3 separate regions of the Homo sapiens genome follow, and regions 1 and 3 are each linked to region 2. The links are contacts of gene promoters, found by promoter capture Hi-C in blood cells and fetal thymus (Javierre and others, 2016). All regions are on one chromosome and are shown on one strand. Each heading gives the region's core, a stretch centred on a gene start or on the middle of the fragment in contact. The rest is flanking DNA. Distances are from core to core; before and after follow the strand shown. Region 1 has its middle 60 kb from the start of C5orf67. Region 2 holds the start of C5orf67 (chromosome 5 putative open reading frame 67). Region 3 has its middle 40 kb from the start of C5orf67.

Region 1 (2,700 bases), core at 127-2,626, 60 kb before region 2:
TATAAAGCCATTGTCACCAAGGGATGGGGGGGTGGCGAGGTATAACAGACTACACATAGGGTACAGTGTACACTGCTTGGGTGATGGGTGCACCAAAATCTCAGAAATCACCACTAAAGAACTTATTTGTGTAACCAAACACCCCTTTTCCCCCAAAAAACTATTGAAATGAAAAAGTTTTTAAAAAAGAACATTAAAAAAACTTGCCAATTTGATTTTAAAGACAATTGCATTAAAATAGTAAACTATTTTAATATTAATATTAATGTAATATTTTATATTGAAATATAAAATTTTATGCTAAAATATAAATATTAAAATAATAAAGTTTAGACAAAAAAAGAGTAGAACAGAATTTAGGGTTTTAGAAGGCTGTCAATAGAGGGAAAAAAGAAGTCTGTGGAAGGAGCCTGGGTTTCTAGAAGATGGTGGTACATAGCTGAGAAAGTCTTCATAGTGGAGAATGGTTTGTGAATATTTATGAAAGAGGTATCTAATAAGGGTTTTGAAGTTGTTCCTCACTCTGTGTTGCCTTTTATCCCCCTTTACCCACTATCCTTCAGTTAGAAATCTGATACATACAATAACCCTTGAATTTATGCTGAGTTGAGAAATAGGACGGAAGAAGGGTGTTGTCCAGCATGTCCAGGAAGTGGGCTAATGAGAGAGTAGGAAAGATGTAGAAACCAGGAAGGATGTAGCAAGGACCGCCTCAGGAGAAGGGAGAGGACTGCGTGGGTGGGTGGCTCTGGATATTCTGAAGTACAGAGGGTGCAGCCTTGAGCTCTAGTGTTTTGTAAAATTAAAGGGAATCTCTTAGGCAGCAGACACTTGGCATGCCTGCGAATCAATCACGACAGTACGTTGTTGTGGCCAGTCTTTGGTTTGTCCCTCCAAGGGAAAGGTCCACTTTCTTCCCTTGGAGGCTGCCCTGTATGGACCACAGGAAAGGGCTCCCTTGACCCTGGATTCCAGCTGGAGTTCCCTCCAGCACCAGCAGATAATTGGAAGGAGGGAGGAAGAGCCAAACTCAGGGCTTTTCCAGTGGCTCCTTTCCTGAGGGTTTGCTCCAGACTGGCTACATTCCTCTACTCAAGGTTGCAGTTCCTGTGAAGCATCCCTCTTCTTCTCCCTCCAAGCTCTGAGAACTACTTCTTCCTCTTACCTTTCCAGCCTAGGGATAGTAATAGAGCTCCTCTTAATTTGCCCAGCGGTATGTACTAACTTTTGTAGTCTCCTTATACTCTGCTTCTTTGTAAAGAGTCTCTGTTTTAAACACTCTTCAGTATGAGGTTTCTGAGACCTGACTCATACAGATGTGAGAAGGACTAAAAAAGGTTTGTACGAAGCATTATAGGCTGGAGGTGGAGAACGCGATCAGCTGCACAGTGGGAAGGGAACATGGGGTAGGGGCATGGAGGGTTACATGAGTGAGGTTTGAGCTGAATCATGTGCAAGGGGATATTTCCCTGGGATTAGGGTAAACTCCAGCCTGAAAACAGACTTGCATCTGCCAGGCCAGTGTCTCTGTAAGTAAATCTGAATGATTTTCATGGTCATAAAAGATAATGGTTACCCAGTGGGCTTTAAAAGACATGGGCAAATACTATCCAAAGCAATCTACAGATTCAATGCTATTCCTATCACACTACAAATGTCATTTTCACAAAACTAGAAAAAACTATTCTAAAACTCATATGGAACCAAAAAAGAGCCCAAACAGCCAAAGCAATCCTAAACCCCCAAAACAACAAAGCCGGAGGCATCACATTCCCCGACTTTCAGCTATACTATAAGGCTACATTAATCAAAATGGCATGCTACTGGGTACAAAAACAGATACAAAGACCAATGGAACAGAATAGAGAACCCAGAAATAAAGGCGTACACCTATAACCTTCTGATCTTTGATGAAGTTAACAAAAATAAACAAGGACTCCTTATTCAACAAATGGTACTGGAATAGCTTCATATGCAGAAAATTGAAACTGGACTCCTACCTTTAACTATATGCAAAAACTAATTAATGATGGGTTAAAGATTTAAATATAAGATTATATTTAAATTATAAAAATCCCAGAAGAAATCCTAGGAGCACCATTCTGGACATCAGTCTTGGGAAAGAATTTATGCCCAAGTCATAAGCAATTGCGACAAAAACAAAATTGACAAGTGAGACCTAATTAAACTAAAGAGCTTCTGCACAGCAAAAGAAACTATCAAAAGAGTAAACAGGCACCCTAAAGAATGGAAGAAAGTGTTTGTAAACTATGTATCTGACAAAGGTCTGATATACAGAATTTATAAGGAACTTAAACAACTCAACAAGCAAAAGAAAAACCCATGAAAAAGTGGGAAAAGGACATGAACAGACACTTCTCAAAAGAAGACATACAATCAGCCAACAAACGTATGCAAAAATGCTCCACATCATGAATCATCAGAGAAATGCAAATCAAAACCACAATGAAATACCATCTCACACCAGTCACAATGGCCATTATTGAAAAGTCAAAAAACAGATGCTAGTGAACCTGCAGAGAAAAGGGAATGCTTATACGTTGTTGGTGGAAATGTAAATTAGTTCAGCCACTGTGGAAAGCAGTGTGGAGATTTCTCAAACAACTTAAAACGGAACTACCATTCAACCCAGCAACTGTATTATGGGTATACACCCAAAGGAAAATAAATTGTACTACA
Region 2 (2,745 bases), core at 10-2,509:
AGTTGAACGTGGAGCAGGAAGAACATCTTGCTCTTGTGACTTGGTTTTAAACGTTGCATCTAGAAGATGGGGTGATACTGAAAGATGTCACTTATTTCCTTTTGTGAATTGAGATAAAATGGTTCTAATTCTTTCACTGCTTTCTGGCTTTAGGGCCCTGCGAAAGAATGTTTATTCTTTTGCTCTTGGTGGGAATTGGATGTCTGTCGATTTAGCATATGTTTAAAATATTTTAGCTTTGGAAAACTGCCCTGATAGCCTTCTCCCTCTAGTCAAAATTAATCTCATCTTCCCGCAGCTCTCACAGCCAGTGATTCATGGCTCTAATACAGCCCTTCTCATATTCTTCTTTATTCTATAAAGACTTACTTTTCTATAAAGACTTTTATTTCTGTTTGTCTCTTACATCAAATTGAAAGTTCTGTGTGGAGAAGAACTCTGTCTTACACATCTTTGTGATTACCTGAGTCTAGTCTGGTACATTATATTTGGCAGCATTCAGTACGTATTACATTGAATCTGGAAGATCACACAGAGAGGGGGATTCTGAGGGGTGGCAACAACCACTTTTGTAGCAGACGCTGTTGGTGTCCAACCCATGTCCCCTTGGCCACCCCAGAGTTTGGCTGTAGTCACATGCTGTGTAGACAGACAACCTCCTGCTTCTCTCTGCCTGAGGGCATTCTTCAGCCATAGAAATGAGCTTGGAAGCGGCTGGGTATGGTGGCTCACACCTGTAATCCCAGCACTTTGGGAGGCCGAGGCAGGCGGATCACAAGGTCAGGAGTTCAAGACCAGCCTGGCCAATATAGTGAAACCCCATCTCTACTAAAAACACAACAAATTAGCTGGGTGTGGTGGCGGGCACCTGTTATCCCAGCTACTCAGGAGGCTGAGGCAGAAGAATCACTTGAACCCAGGAGGCAGAGGTTGCAGTGAGCCGAGATCGCACCATTGCACTCCAACGTGGGCAACAGTGCAAGACTCCATCTCAAAAAAAAAAAAAGACAAAAGGAAAAAAGAAAAAAGAAATGAGCTTGGAAGCACACAGGTTAGTCTGCAAGTGCCAGGGAATTATTGCCCAAGGAATGACCCTTGGCCAAAGAGGGAAAGTCCTGGCTGGATAAATAATCCAAAGTCCTTGCCCTCATTCCAAGGAATGTTCTGCAGTCTCCTAAGGGTTTCCTGCTAGAGGAAGCCCTGATTGCCCAAAGCTTCTTAACACATTCTTTATTAGCTTTCCTCTCTTCCCTGTTTCATATTCCCTGTGCTCCCCTGGGATCAACAGCCAAATGAACAACTTCACCTGAGCCCTTACCTCCAAGGAAGTGCCACAGGGGAACCCAAAGGCCCTTAATCATTAAAAAAAACTTTAGAGATGCTGGCTGAGCCATCAGTGAGAACATGGATGCATACACAGAACCTACATCTTGTCATCTCTGCTCTTCGAGGAATGGAGCTGGAGAGGCAGAGAAGCAATGAAGCCGAATTCTGTGAGTGGGACTTCTGCGCAGCGGGGGAGGGAATTTCTACTTCTGGCCAGGAAATAGAGCTGGTGCCTTGTAGAAAGGCTCGAGGTAATGCAGTCAAAGGGCAAGCTTAGAGCAGTATGTGAAGGAATCCACCAAGGATTAGAACCAGCCAAGGGTCAGACAAACCAAATGAGACCAGAAGAGGAAAGTGGTGTCTTGGCAGAAAGGGCTTCCAGACCCATAGTCACAGGAATCTTCAGGAGAGGGGTGAAGAAGAAGGCATGGATCGCCAGGCCCAGGAGAGTCTAAAGCTGGTTTGGTGGGGAAGAATTTGGCCACATCTGTGCAGGATCCTAGAGAGTGGGGCAGAGGAGCTGGGCATCTGCTGTCAATGAGGCCAATTAAGAACAGTCTCAGGCTTGGGTCTCAAGCCTCAGGGATCTAGAACTTATCTGGTTTTAGCTGCTCTATATTCATTTCTTAGGAAGAGAGAGAGAGAGAGTATGTGTGTGTGTGTCTGTGTCTGTGTATATGTGTGAAATTTCTCTCAACTGAAACACAGGGCAGAACACTAGATGAAACTAGTGCTGTACTTTTCTGCTTATCTGTCGACACAGTCTTAGTGCGCAAAGTCTTGGTCTTAGTGGCTGGGTGTGGCAGTTTCCCAGAGGTGGGGGGCAGTAATAAAGAGAGAGAAAGGGAGACCTGATAGAAGATGGAGACCAGATAGAAGGCATCTGCTACGTGCATAGGTGCCCCTTTCTGAACAAGCTGTTTTTTGGTTACGAGATCCATTCCTGAAATCGATTTTAAGATATTCTGTGTTGGGTGATGTCACAGAAGCACTACTGGTGCACGGATTTGAAAAATAGTGGCTCATCCCGCCTCAGGGTTTGACAGCTTGGTAACTTGCAGTGAGGTTTCTTTTAACAATGAAACCAAGTCCTTTGAAAGACAAAAAAAGAACAAAACATCCACTAATTTTTGCGTGCAGGAGTAAGACAACAGTATTGGGAGATCTCAGCTATAAATGTGCCAGCTCTGGGAACTTTGGTTAAGTCATTTCACCATTCGCCTGTTTCCTCACCTATAACCAAGGAGGCAGCCAAGCCATCCCTAGTATTTCCTGGAATTCTGAGATCCTAAGTCAGATTGTTGAGTCTGGAGAGGCTGGATTCAGTGATTGACTAGGAGGGGCCTGTTTGTGTGGCTGTGTTCTATATGGCAAAACTTTGGTTCAGCACTTTGGCCAAGTCGGCCTCCACAGAAATGA
Region 3 (2,700 bases), core at 167-2,666, 40 kb before region 2:
TTCTTACACAGCATAAGTGAATATTTTTAGAAAATTTTAATAAATATTTCTAGCAATAACATCTTCACTGAGATAGACTCTACTGTAAATCTACTATGCTTATTACGTACTTACCATTTAATAGATAATGGAAATCACACCCTAGGCCTCACATGCCATCAAAAAGTTCTAACAGATTGAGTGTTTCTTTGAGCAGCAAGTAAGTGTGCATGCCTGGGAAACCCCAGTTTTTCCTGCCTGTTCACAGACCAAAAATAAAAAAGAGAGAGAGAATTCTTTGATCTAAGACAGATTTGCAGATAACCACTTACCTGGAACATATATCATTAGTTTACGTCTGGCTGGTGGAACTTTTTGTTTTCTTTGTCTGTGTTTTACTTTGGGGAGAAACAACCATTAGTGGCCAGCCATTGTTTTATATTTACATGCAAAAAAAGAGACAGAGAAAGGTTTCGAACTGAGGCCCCAGGTCCTGGGGACTAGAATATGCTTTATCTCTAGTATTCCTATCCAAGTTCCTGAAGCTGTCTGGGTGAGGCAGCCTGGGCCCTGTGCACGGGGCCTTGCTTTGCCTGTTTTTTCCATTCTCTGCTCTAGACTCCTCCCTATCTTATCTCTTGCTAAATCAGGGTAGTTCCTACAGTTAATTTGCCCAACTCACTTTGCATAATTTTTCCTCTGAGTTACCCCAGAAAGCTCTAACCAGGTTCACTGATTCCCACTCCAATCCTAGCCTCCCTCAATTATATTTCTGGGCAGCAGCATTCAGTCAAGCAGTTTGGTTTGTTTCAATTTGTGCCCATCTTCTCCACTGAGCAGTCCTGGTACTCTCGCCTCCCTATGGAACCACAGGGCCCTGCTTGCCCAGTGTGGCATTCATTCCCAGCAGCTCCATCTGGATCCAGTGGCCAGCTCCTTCTACCAAGTAGAGCTGATTGGGCAGCAGACAATGGCAAGGAAAACTGAAGAATGTCACTGGCCACAGGCCCGCTGAGAGTGAGACTCCTGTGCTCCCACTGTGTCATTTGTGATTTCCCTTTCTTGTGTCTTCTATGCCAGCATGGATTCAAACCTTTGGTTTTGTCTGGAAGTGTCCAGGTGAATAATTGTTATTCTTAAAATATTCTTCGATGTATGTGCAGAACTTCTGAATTCCATTATATGGAGAAATAAAAGCATCCGTTTTCTTCAGTGCTTCATTTTATACCTCAAATTCTGCTGAAGTGATTTAATTTTCTGGGAACCACCCTCTTTTATACTTTCCTGGTGAACTTCCTTTCCTAGGTTGACAAAGCAAGCTGAGGATTTTCCTACTAAGATTTTGAGTTTCCCTGTAGTCCCAGCTGCTCGGGAGGCTGAGGCAGGAGAATGGCGTGAACCTGGGAGGCGGAGCTTGCAGTGAGCAGAGATCGCGCCACTGCACTCCAGCCTGGGCGACAGAGCGAGACTCCGTCTCAAAAAAAAAAAAAAAAAGATTTTGAGTTCCAAGCAACAGAAGTTAACTTACCTGTGTATTTATCTATGGGTGTGCAGAGCAACTCCTTGTTATACTTTCATTTACAGAAGGGCAATAGTGACAACCTAACAATGCTTAGGTCAAAAGCAGGTCCCTGCTGTTGCAGAATAGAAGCTACCACAGAATGAGCGTGTACTGTGTGGCTACTATTGTACCAGGTACTTAATACATGATCTCATTTAGTCCTCAGAATAACTTGTTATGAGGAAACTGAGTCCCAGAAAGGTGAAGTAGCTAGATCAATATAACATGGAACCAAGATTTGGACTCGGACCTCCCCAGGCCTAGCACAATCCTCTCTTCATTATACTGCGTTGCTTGTTTTTCTTGTTGATAGGAAAGAGATTTGGCGAATTATCTTGGTGTCCCTTAAATCACACCAAGCCAGCATCTGTCTTTGTCCAAGGAGTCAGGCAGCGAGTCTTGTGTGTGTACATTTTCCCACCTTCAGAACCTTTGGCTCATGCCTTTACCATCACTGTTTCCCGCTGATTCTAGCAGACAGATGGGCCTCTTTCCCAACCTGGGTCATGAGCAGAGCGGTTCATGAAGGAGTTGTTCAGAATCCTGATTCCAGGTATAATCTGCATGAACCCCATTGAGAAGGAGCCCCTTCTCAGAAGGTATCAGTGCTCTTGTGGATTGGCAGGGTTGGTGGGGTGGGGTGGGGGAGTGGGCCTTACACAGTTCTTTCAGCCCAGGGCTACTGAATGTGTCACTGAACCCATGACTCTGCTTCCATGCTATTTCACAGAACCATTTAAAGAGCAGCATATGAAAGAAAACATTAAAAAACATAATTTTATTCAAGAGTACATTCCAAATGCCTTGGTATCGAAATCGCTCCTTCTACACCTTAAGTTGATTTCCCCTAATTTGGTTTTCCAGGTATGTGCAAAGAAATCATCCCTGTGTTTTAGATATTTGAAGTTTCCTAAAACTTCCTGTTCATCTCTTCTGAGCAAACCTTTGCTTTTCTCCCCAATCTTTTAGGTATTTCCTAGTCCGTTTGAGCTCTTAGCTGGTTTTGCATTTTTCTCTGCATCTCATCTAAATTTACCACCTGTTTAGGTTTTAATGTGATAATTAACAGAGTATATTAATATGCCCTGACTTGGAAATTCAATTTGACAAATATTTACAATTGGCTTTTCTGTACACAGCACAGCTATATGCTCTGTAGG

The links. Contacts are between HindIII fragments. The CHiCAGO score rates a contact against its expected background, and 5 or more counts as called.
Region 1: a contact is called between a fragment that was not itself captured here and the fragment with the promoter of C5orf67 in region 2, in 2 of 17 cell types (total B cells and naive B cells). The highest score is 6.1, in total B cells.
Region 3: a fragment that was not itself captured here is called in contact with the fragment with the promoter of C5orf67 in region 2 in 2 of 17 cell types (naive B cells and total B cells); the score reaches 5.7 in naive B cells.

What each region holds. Positions count from the first base shown.
Region 1 is chr5:56,665,077-56,667,776 of GRCh38, reverse strand. No RefSeq gene overlaps it. Among named protein-coding and RNA genes, the nearest start is that of C5orf67, 60 kb to the right of the region's middle. The HindIII fragment of the contact is 5,387 bases long and covers 1-2,700 here.
Region 2 is chr5:56,604,770-56,607,514 of GRCh38, reverse strand. C5orf67 (chromosome 5 putative open reading frame 67) reads left to right here and starts at 1,259. Exons shown (of 6, transcript NR_161255.1): 1 at 1,259-1,493. The HindIII fragment of the contact is 384 bases long and covers 1,217-1,600 here.
Region 3 is chr5:56,645,191-56,647,890 of GRCh38, reverse strand. No RefSeq gene overlaps it. Among named protein-coding and RNA genes, the nearest start is that of C5orf67, 40 kb to the right of the region's middle. The HindIII fragment of the contact is 3,931 bases long and covers 1-2,700 here.